Regions from separate parts of the Homo sapiens genome. Here region 1 is linked to region 2. Evidence: promoter capture Hi-C in human tissues and cell types (Jung and others, 2019). All regions are on one chromosome and are shown on one strand. Each heading gives the region's core, a stretch centred on a gene start or on the middle of the fragment in contact. The rest is flanking DNA. Distances are from core to core; before and after follow the strand shown.

Region 1 (5,597 bases), core at 964-3,463, 41 kb after region 2:
TGAGCAACACAATTAGAATATGTGGAAAATCTGTAAACAGACACCAGCAAAGAGCCAGATGCTCCCTGGAGCCAGTCCAAGAACAATTAAGCAGCCCTTTGAAGACTAACTGAGCTGGGGGCAGTCAAGAGCTTGTCAGCTCCAGGCAGCAAGATCTCAACCTTCAGGGGCAGGGAGCACAAACCTCTCTCCCTTCCTCTCTCTCTCTGAAAGCTAAATAACAAAATATCAGCCCCTCCCAAAGGCACAGTGGTGAGATGAGGGCCACCAAAAGGCCTGCTTGGCAGGACACCCTGTCAGGTTTTGGGGAGAGAAGGGCAGAACCAGTAGCCTGCAGGTCACACTTGGCCTTTAAGGTGATCATTCATATCATTACAGTTATTATTGCTCACATGGCATTTTAAAAATCTGAATTAATTACCATCACTGAAGGATGTTGCATTTTCACATTCAAACTCACATACCCAGATTCTCTGGAGGAAGCCGTGTGTAAGGCCACAATGAGCACACACGTTCCACAAGCCACAGTGGGCTAGAGCTGAGGAGCTGCCCCTGGGAGAGTGGGTGCATCAGAATTTGCCACAGTAAGTTCCACCCCTGTGGTTTCCCCATCCTCACGCTGGCATTTCTGTCATTGCCTCTTTCTCACTTTAAACACCTGCTGGCCTATTTGTAAATTTGAGTTTACAACCTCTGCTTTAAAACAGCCCACATTTATTAGATAAAGGAAATGAGGCCTGGGAGGGAAACTGAGGAAAGAACTTGCTGAGGCCATCATCCGAGCCGAAACAAGTACAACTGCACAAGCTAGAGAACGCTGTTGTAAACCAAAAATAAAATAGGGCCCCCTAATCATCTGAATGGACACCCTCCTAAACCAGGGCTCTTTAAATTTAATCTGAGAGAGCTGGATGCAGTGGTTCATGCCTGTAATCCCAGCACTTTGGGAGGACAAGGCAAGTGGATCACTGAAGGTCAGGAGTTCAAGACCAGCCTGGCCAACATGGTGAAACCCTGTCTCTACTAAAAATACTAAAAGCAGCCAGGCGTGGAGGTGGGCGCCTGTAATCCCAACTACTTGGGAGGCTGAGGCAAGAGAATCACTTGAACTAGGGAGGCTGAGGTTGCAGGGAGCTGAGATCGTGCCACGGCACTCCAGCCTGGGTGACAAAAGAGCCAGACTCTGTCTCAAAAAAAAAAAAAAAAAAAAAAAAATTAACCTGAGAGACTGTTTCAGGCTATGACAGGAAATGGGGGTCCCACTTGCCTCATTATACCCCTCCAGCGTTAACATCAACACAGACGTTAAGTCTGATAAGGAACAGTTTGCAGCCTATTCTCTCTGAAGCCTGCTAGCTAAAAGCTTCATCAGCATGATAAAACTCTGGTCTGTACAACCTCTTATCCTAACCCAGACATTCTTTTCTGTTTGATCTCAGGTCTTTAGACAAACTCAACCAATTGTCAACCAGAAAATGTTTAAATTTACCTATAACCACCCCACCACCACCCCGAGTTTTCCTGCCTTTCTGGACCAAACCCAATGTATTACAAAAGTAATTGCAATTTTTGCCATTAAAACAATCTCTCAGGTTAAATTAAATAAAAAGTAATGGTGAAAACTGCAATTACTTTTGCACCAACCTAATATTTCTTAAATGTACTTAATTGGTGTCTCATGCCTTCCTAAAATGTATAAAACCAAGCTGCACCCTGACCATCATGGGTACATGTTCTCAGGACCTCCTGAGGGCTGTGTCACAGGCCATGGTCACTCATATTTGGCTCAGAATCAATCTCTTCAAAGGTTTTACAGAGTTTGACTCTTTGCACCGACACTGTCCTTCTGGTATCTTATGGCACAAGACCAGCTCCAATTTCATATTCTGCCTACAGAAACCACTCTGGCTAACACCATTCTCCCTCTTCCCTAAATTCCAAACCACCTGCCATTTTTGCTATTTATTTGGTAATGAATCACTTACTACCATTTATATTTTGGTCACCATTTATCGATGTCTGATATGCGGTAGATATTGTGCTAGGTCCCGGGAAGGATAATGTGTGAATTACGTGCAATCCTGCCATTCAACTGACTGATCCAGTGCAGTAGAAAAAGCACAGCCTTGGAGCCAACCAGGAACGAGTTTGAATTCTGCTCTGATGCAGAATTCTGGCTTTGGGACCTTGGGTAAGGTATTCAAGAGTTCTGAGTCTTGGTTTCCTCATGTGTAAAATGAAGGCTGTGATTCCTCCCCCACGTGGACGTTGGGAAGGCTGATGAGGGCACGCACGCAAAAGCATGGCGCTGACTGTGGTCTCCTTGCTCTCAGATCCATGACCTCCCCTTCACATCCTCAAGGGCATTGCAGGGCACTGCATTTCGCAGACGCCCTGGTTCCTGGCTTCCCACATGAGGCCAACAGGAAGACTGGAAGGCAGCAGGAAGGGAGAAGCCAGGGTATTTCTCCCCTTTACTCTTACTTTTGGTAGCCTTTCTGGCCAGAACTGCGTCTCCTCCACAGTGCCAGATCCGTGGCAGCTGCCATGGTTTTAGCTGCTGCTAGGAAACCCTAATCTCCAGGTTCAACAAATACCACCTCTTGGTTCTTCCTGGTCAAGGTTGTTGTGGGTAAGCAGCATCTATCGGTGCCAGTGGTGAGGGGTTAAAAGAATTTACCAAGATAATTGTAGGTAAAGAAAGTCAGATTTATTAGACAAAGTAGGAAAATACGTTGCCAAGGAGCAATGGGCAGAATCAGCAGAAGAGGAGCTGACTGCCAGGAAACAAAGACTTGCTGGAGATTTTATAGGACGGCTCTTGGGTTGATTGATAATGCCACGGCAGCAGGGAGCTAACTTGCATTCTTCTGTTCACCAAGGAGATGTTTGATGATAAAATGAAGCATTTGAGGATAAACAGAAAGTTTGTGAGTTATGAACATTATCTGTGCAGGAGGGCTATACATCCTGGGCCATAAAGAAAGGCAGACCTGTAGCTTATTTGCTTTATCTCTTTGCTTTCCCCTGGTTCTGCCAGCCTGACTCTTTTCCTTTAATTAGGACTCCACAGAGATAGCAATACCTTCCTGCGGGGGCTGATCTCTCTCCTCTTTGGCAGCTCAGCTAACTGTTATCTATGCAATAAATTCCTTACTCTCAGGAGTTAAATTGTATCCCCCACGAAAGTCCATTTATTGAAGCCCTACCCCACCAGGACCTCAGAATGTGACCTTATTTGGGAGTAGCTAGTTGCAGATGTAACTAGTCAAAATGAGGTTACCCTGAAATAGGGTGGGTCCCTAATCCAATAAAGACTGGTGTCCTTATGGAAAGGAGAAACATGGAGACAGGTAGAACACTGTGTGAAGATGAGGGCAGACATCAGAGTGATACCTCTGCAACCCAAAGAACACCAAAGATGGCCAGAAAACCTTCAGGAGCTGGGGAGAGGCCTAGGACAGATTCCCTGTCACAGCCCCAGAAGGAACTAACCCTGCTGATACCTTGATCTTGAACTTCAGGCCTCCAGAACTGTGAGAGAATCAATTTCTGTTTGTTAAGCCATTCATTTGTGGTGCTTTGTTATGACAGTCCTAAAATACAAATACACCTACTTTAAATCCTTTCTGCTTGGTTTCTGTTTTCTGATGGAACCTACCTTTCAGTTGTAACCTGCATCTGGCACATGGCATGCAGTTTGATGAGAAGGGGGAAACAACCCTGATGCTGGTAGCAACAGGAGACTGACAGATTCCTAGGCAGACAGAGGTGGGTTCCCGGTGAAACCTGACCTTCAAGCCAAGGACGGTTTAAAGCCTGAAAACTGAGCTGCCACTTCCAGATAGAGTCCACAACTAGAATGAGAACTTCCATCCCAGTCTTACCTACTCTCTCTATTGGTACCTTCTGAATGATGCCTTTTAACCAATTGAATGGTGCTTTTTCTAAGCCCACCCATGGACCAATCAGCATGCACTTCCCCATTCTAAGCCCATAAAAATCCTGGACTCAGACTCACAGGCGACTGCCTGCTTTTGGGTCCCCTCTTGATGCTCAGAGCTTTCTTTCTGTCACTCCGTAAAATTCTACTCTGCCTTACTCACTCTCCAGTGTTCATATACCTTATTCCTCTTGGTCACGGTACAAAAACCCGGAAGTCACTGAACTACGAGAGCAAAAGAGCTGCAGTGCTGCTGCTCACCGAGCTGTGGGCGGTGGGAGTAAAATAGCTGTAACACTCCGTCCCACTTGTTGAACAGTGGTGGAAAAGAAGCCACTGGGTGCCACTCCCTCCCACTCACTAAACTGTGGAAGTGAAAAAGCCTCAACAATATCAAGCAGAATGAAAGCCAGAGCCAAAATAAAATTCAACCTGTGAAAGGAAAATAAAGACTCAAAACCCCAATTCACTCTGCCAAGACAAAACAAACAAAAAAACAAACAAACAAAAATTAAGCCGAAAGCTGAGTCATGCATGGAACTGCCTTTCCTTTTGTTCTTAAGAGAGCGCTCCCAATGATTAAATATCTCTATGTTCACCTCACACTATGTAAAGTGCCAATTCACTAAGCATGAAATGAATACATGACTGACTGTTCTCTTACCTGCTCCTTTTCTCTTGCAACACATGGACTCAGTAATGTGACCTTACCCTCCTTCTTCCCTGCTCCAGCCTACTTTTCACCTTTAATTATTGAAGCCCCCAAAATTATCTTTGGAGAAAGGCATGAACCTCTCTTCTGAGCATGTCCTTAACCTTGGCAAAATAAACTTCTAGCTCGATTGAGGCCTGTTTCAAATACTTTTTGGTTTGCAATTCAGAATGCATTTGGAATTCAATGAGTTCAAGTTATGTGCAAGGGACTGTGTATGTATGTGTGTGTGGTGTGTGTGTCTGTGTGTGTGTGTGTGTGTGTGTGCATGTTCTCAATGAGCTGTCAGAACAACCCACAGAACAAGCACCATTATCTCCATTTTATAGAACAAGAAACTGGGGTTCAGAGAAGGTAAGTGACTTACCCAGCAGGACACACTATGAGTGGGAAAACCAGCACTGGCCCTTCATGGCCTGCTCCCAGCTCCTCCTGCAGTGCTGTATCACCTGTAGAAGATGTTTTCAGGTTTCTGAGCTTCCCTAGGATTGGTTGGCCATAGAAAGCAATAGAAAACTAATACGGACCCTTGGGGATATTTTTTTCTCATCTCTCCCTACCTCCTCACTCTCTCTCCCTCACTATAGTCAGGAAGGAACTCACTAGAGAGCATAAATTCCATGATATCTTTTCCCCTCCACACCTGGCCACCATGTAGGCCCTGAGGATGTGTACATTAACTGGGTATCATCCCTGCCTTTGAGAATCTCACAGTCCAGAAGAGAAGAGAGGCATGAATAGGTAACAGCAACATCCCACAGTGGCAAAGCATCACTGAGAGGAGGTGGCCTCATGGAGGGCAGAGGAGAATGGGGCCAGTGACATCTCACAGGGGTCATGGAGGCTAAAGCCAAGAGACAGCCAGTGATGTCTGTGACACTTGAGAAATAAAACGTAATGAAAACACGATGTCGCTACATTCAACGGAACAGTGGGCGTCTG
Region 2 (5,509 bases), core at 421-2,920:
CTTTCCATGATTTGCCTGGTAGAAATCATCAATGAGAGACAGATTAGGAGTGAGAAAGACCCACGTAGACATAGGAGTGTCGGCATGGGCCCAGGCGTGGTGGCTCATGCCTGTAACCCCAGCACTCTGGGAGGCCAAGGTGGGCGGATCACCTGAGGTCGGGAGTTGGAGACCAGTCTGACCAACATGGAGAAACCGCATCTCTACTAAAAATATAAAATTAGCCGGGCATGGTAGCTCATGCCTGTAATCCTAGCTACTCAGGAGGCTGAGTCAGGAGGAGAATCGCTTGAACCCGGGAGGCAGAGGTCACAGTGAGCCGAGGCTGCACCTCGCACCATTGTACTCCAGCCTGGGAAACAAGAGTGAAACTCGGCCTCAAAAAAAAAAAAAGTGTCAGGATGGGGCTCTGGAAGATGACAAGTCATGGAATGAAGTTCTGAGGAGGGGGACCCGGCACACAGCTCTGGAACAGGCCGGCAGGCGGTGCCTCCTTCTGCAGATGGTTGATAAGCATGTCCACCTGTCATCCCTGAGTCTTGCCTTGAGTGGGGAGAAGTGAGGACTCATTTTCCAATAACACAGCTAATTCAAATCGTGCTCAATAAAGTGGCACACGAAACTCTGGTCTGCTACAGAACATGATACGCAGGGATTGGGGGAAGGACAAAAACACCTCTCTGACCTAGAGAAGGCTGGGAGAGGGGGGATAAAATGCTCAAATAGAAATGAGATCTAAATTTAGATCAAGAAAGCTAAGTTCCCTGACAGTAAATGTAAAACCAAACGAAGACTATTCTTTCCCCACCCCCTGCTCCATTTCCCCCGCATCTTTTTCTCCTTTTACTGCAAACTTCTTACTTGAAAGTTTAAAGAGCTGGTACATCTCAACTACTTTAAAGTATTATAGCAATCTGAAAACAAGCTCTCGCATTTGACTCTCGGCGGCCATCGCTGAGCTCCTCGCTGCTCAGCTAGAATCAAACAGGTGTGTTCTCACGGATTTGCCGCTATTTTACTCTGAAGTTAAGTCAAGACACAGACACATCTGCTTCCAACTATAGTCACTCCCTAAAGAGCGAAGTGTGCTCAGGCTTCAGAAGGAAACGCGTCTGTATTTGGAGAGAACATCTCCCCAGCCCGCATCCACCCCCCGCCTCTCGTCCCTCACTGTCATCTGGGAAGATGGGCGTCAGCTGAAGTCTGTGACCTTCAGCACTGCAGCAAAGAAGAGAACCCGGGTCTTACCTGGCAGGGAGGCACTCAGGGGTGCCAGCGGAGGTCCAGTCCTGGGCCCAGGCCCACTGGAAGCAGCAGCTGGGAGAAGACACCAGCCCCAGGAATCCTCCTCCTGGGGGTCACCTGTCAGCCACTCGCCCACTCTCCCCCAAATAATCTCACAAACTCAGACTCTAAACAAGACCCGCAGTAAGTGTGGAGGCTTTCCCCAGGCCAGGGGGCCAGAGAGGGAACCAGCTTGAAAACAAGTAACTAAATACATACAGTTAGAAGGAAAGGCTTGAAAGTTACAGAATGAGATAGAAAGTGTGTGAGAAACAGAAGAACAGGGAAAGCGGAGAAGACACTTCCTTGGGGAGAAACGCCGCAGCCTCGGCCAGCCCCGCCACTGCCCAGGAACAAAGCTGTCTGGAGCCTCCCCAGGGGCAAGCTGGCCTCAGCGCTGGGATTCCCCGGCTAAGAGCGCGGGGCTGGGGAGGAGCTGGGGCGGGGGCGGGCCTAGGAGCTCGGGGCGGGAGCGGGCGGGGGCCAAGCCGCGAAGGAGGAGGAAAATCAGGGGGCTGGGAGCGGGGAGGGGCCGGAGGTGCAGGGGCGGACCCCAGAGAAAACGAGAGAGGCCGACGAGGCCCCGGACAGTGGCGAGGGGCTGCGGGGAAAGGTGGGCAGGGACCTCGGGAGGGCTGTGGGGGACTGGACAGCGTTAGGGTCCAGGCAGTAACGAGGTGGCCCTGGGAAGCCCAAAAGAGGGGCTGACAACTTTCTGTCCAATTATAGACTTCACTGATACTCTGCTCCCTTTTCCAGCGGGTCTGAAATAGACCACCGACTAGTGCCGCAGCTGCCCGAAACTTTGGGAAGTTTGGCGCCACCAGGGGGCCTGGGGAGGGGGCGCGCTTGGCTCTTTTTCCAGATCTGAGAGGCCCCCTCCTGTCTGAGCAGGTGAGAGCAGGTAACGCGCACCCCTCTGTGCCAGGGGCTCCACCTACAGGCAGCCCTGTTCACTGGCTGTGACTTCAGCTCTGAGGACAGGGGCATCGCGTCCTTCTTTTTGGGATGAGGACAGTGAAGCCTCGGAGAGAGCCTTTATAGTCTGCCAGCGCCCCCAGCAGAGCAGGGATATGGGCCCACGTTGGCCTGATGAGGACACTCGCCTGGCTAATGGGCTTTCCAGCCCCCAAAGGCAGACCATGAACAGGTGCAGGCCCGGGGCACCCTTCTACTTTTTCTTTCTGAGCACTGTTCCTAAAAATGGGCCAGGCAGGAGTATTTTGAACTAGATGAGAACATGGTTTAATCTGTGTGACCTCCCCCACCCCCAGCTCCCAATCTGTCTCCTAAACTCTGGGGTGTCTTTATTTGGTTGCCTGCTGGGTAGCAACGATTTCATAAACAGGCAGTATCGGGCTCCTCTGTGACCCAGGGAGCTCAAAAATCCAGCTGCTTCCTCCCTCTCCGGTCTTGTTTTCCAGCCACTCTTGTGGAAATTCATTTCACATGTGTTGACTGAACCCCACCACCCTCACCATGTCAGGTGCCCATCAAGTAGAAGAGAGGGCTGGCCGTATCACGAGAAAGGTGAGGGGCTGAGATGGGTGCTTGTCAGTTACCAGGAGGGCGGGACGCAGAGAAGAGAATGATTGCACCTGCGAGAGCCCAGCGCGTGCGCCTCTGGGCACACTAGTGTCAGAGGCATTGAACCAGAGCAACTCCATCTTGAATAGGGGCTGGATAAAATGAGGCTGAGACCTACTGGGCTGCATTTCCAGCAGGTTTGGCGTTCTTGTCACAGAATGACATAGGAGGTAGGTACAAGACACAGGCCACAGAGGCCCCACTGATAAAACAGGTTGCAATAAAGAGGCTGGCCAAAACCCACCAAAACCAAGATGGTGACCTCTGGTCATTCTCACTGCTGATTATATGCTGATTATAATGCATTACCATGCTAATAGACACTCCCACCAGTGCAATGACAGGTTACAAATGTCATGACAACGTCCAGACGCTACCCTATGTGGTCTAAAAGTTTCCCTCAGTTCTGGGAAATCCCCTCCCCTTTCCCAGAAAACTCACTAATAATCCACCCCTTGTTTAGCATGTAATCAAGAAAGAACTATAAGTATATCTGGTCGAGCAGCCCGTGCCACTGCCCTGCCTGCAATAGCCATCCTTTTGTTTCTTTACTTCCCTAATAAATTTGCTTTCACTTTATGAACTTGCCTTGAATTCTTCTCCTGGAGTCTGGATTGGGATCCTTTTCCGGTAACACTAGTGGGAACACAGACAGAAAAGAGGGATGAGACCACAACATTAAATTACAATAAGTTATAATAAGTGCTATGAAGAAAAAAAAAGATGAGTCAGAGAACAAAGTAAGGGGTGCAAACCCTATATTCAGGGCTAAGGAGAGGTGTGCTGAGCAGGTGGAAGACTGAAGAATGGGCAAAGCCACCATGCAGAGGAGGAGGCCCTGGAATCAGGGCTGGAAGGGGAATTGGGAGCTCACCAGGCAGAGGGAAAGACTTGAGCCCGTGGAGAGTCGAGTCTCCTGTGCCCTGGGACCTGTGGAGGGCCATGGCCAGGGACAAGGCTGGGTGAGGAGCAGGGCACAGATGAGGGGGCTGGCAAGGCCTGCTGAGGGGACAGACTTGGTCCTGAGGACCAGGAGTCACAGAAGTGCCTTAGAGGGGCAGGAGCATGGCCAGGGCAGGGCCTTGCAGAGCCTGCTGCCAGTGGCACAGTTGGGAGGTGGTAGGGGAGGTGCGCTGGGAGACTACTCAGTTGAATAAGTTCTGGAACGTCAGAGAGAGAGAGAACTAGCATCATCTCCAGGTTCAAGGTAGAGCCTCACCAGCACATACTTGTTGACACAGGTAAAATGAGGTCTCTAAAGTAAAGGGAGATCAGAAGGGAAATTGAAGTTCCAGCCATGCGTGACCCCAAGGGCTTTTTTCCCCGTTTATTTTAACATTTGTTAAGAACCTACTAATGTCAGACATTGGGAGTGCAAAGCTGGATAGAATATAATCCAGACCCCAAAGGAAACAAAAGTCTGGAGGGACAGAATCAGCTTTTAAAACCAAGGAAATATACATCAGCCACCGTTCCAGCAACTGGACTGCAGGCATCCTACCATGGCTAATGGAATCTCAAGGGCTCTGAGCTCCCAACTGCCCAGTTAAAAAAACAAAAATCCCTCTGCAGAAGTCCCCTCTACGGTTTTTCTGGGACTCCTTGGTGGGCTGGAAGGTGGTGGTAGGGACTTGACTGTGAAGCCCAGGTGGATCCCCACAGGGCCTCTTTACAACTGAGCTGCTCTTTTTGACCCAAGCTACCTTCATTGGCCAAAGTTACAAGACCTGGGAATCTGCTAGCTGCTCTCAAATCGCGTATCTCCGTGAGAGCTTCACCTCCGGTTTCACAGTGAGAAGAAAGTTGTCCCTGTGTGACTCCCAGGTGGGGACCCACATTGAGCAGTCTTGGACCTTGTTTTCATTTTCTGTTGCTACTGTAAAAAATTACCCCAAAGTTCTGTGCTTGAAACAACATAAATGCATTATCTTGCAGTTCTGGAGGTCAGGAGCCCAAAATGAGTCCTACAGGGTTAAGATCAAGGTGGTGGCAGGGCTGAGTTCCTCCTGGAGGATGCAAGAGATAATTTGTTCCTTGCCCCTCTTCCAGCTTCTAGAATTTTTTTTCTCTTTTTCTTTCTTTCTTTCTTTTTTTTTTTTTTTTTTTTTGAGATGGAGTCTTGCTCTGTCGCTGAGGCTGGAGTGTAATGATGCGATCTCGGCTCACTGCAGTCTCCACCTCCCGGGTTCAAGTGATTCTCCTGCCTCAGCCTCCTAAGTAGCTGGGATTACAGGCACCTGCCACCACTCCCAGCTAATTGTTGTATTTTTAATAGAGGCGGGATTTCACCATGTTGGCTGGGCTGGCCTTGAACTCCATTTTTTTTTTTTTTTAGCCTTGAACTCCTGACTTCAGGTGATCTGCCCACCTCGGCCTCCCAAATTGCTGGGATTACATGCATGAGCCACCATGCCCAGCCCAGCTTCTAGAATTTCCCCACTTTCCTTTCCTTGTGGCCCCTCCCTGCATCACTCTGACTTCTTGCTTCTGTTGCCAGAGCTCCCACCACTGCAGTTAAATCTCCATCTCCCTCCTTATAAAAATCCTGGTGATGAGATTGGGCTTACCAGATGACCCAGGAGCATACCCCATCTCAAGATCACTCACTGTCACCTGCAAAGTTCCTTTCACCATGTAA

Evidence for each region. The method cuts DNA at HindIII sites, captures the fragments that hold promoters and counts their contacts. A contact is called where the count stands out against the background at its distance.
Region 1: a fragment that was not itself captured here is called in contact with the fragment with the promoter of COL22A1 in region 2 in 2 of the 25 tissues and cell types used here (bladder and spleen).

Annotation. Positions count from the first base shown.
Region 1 is chr8:138,953,290-138,958,886 of GRCh38, forward strand. No RefSeq gene overlaps it. Among named protein-coding and RNA genes, the nearest start is that of COL22A1, 42 kb to the left of the region's middle. RefSeq lists enhancers at 1-269, 960-1,648. The HindIII fragment of the contact is 8,715 bases long and covers 1-5,597 here.
Region 2 is chr8:138,912,371-138,917,879 of GRCh38, forward strand. COL22A1 (collagen type XXII alpha 1 chain) reads right to left here and starts at 1,671. Exons shown (of 65, transcript NM_152888.3): 1 at 1,249-1,671. RefSeq lists an enhancer at 772-1,617. The HindIII fragment of the contact is 9,946 bases long and covers 1-5,509 here.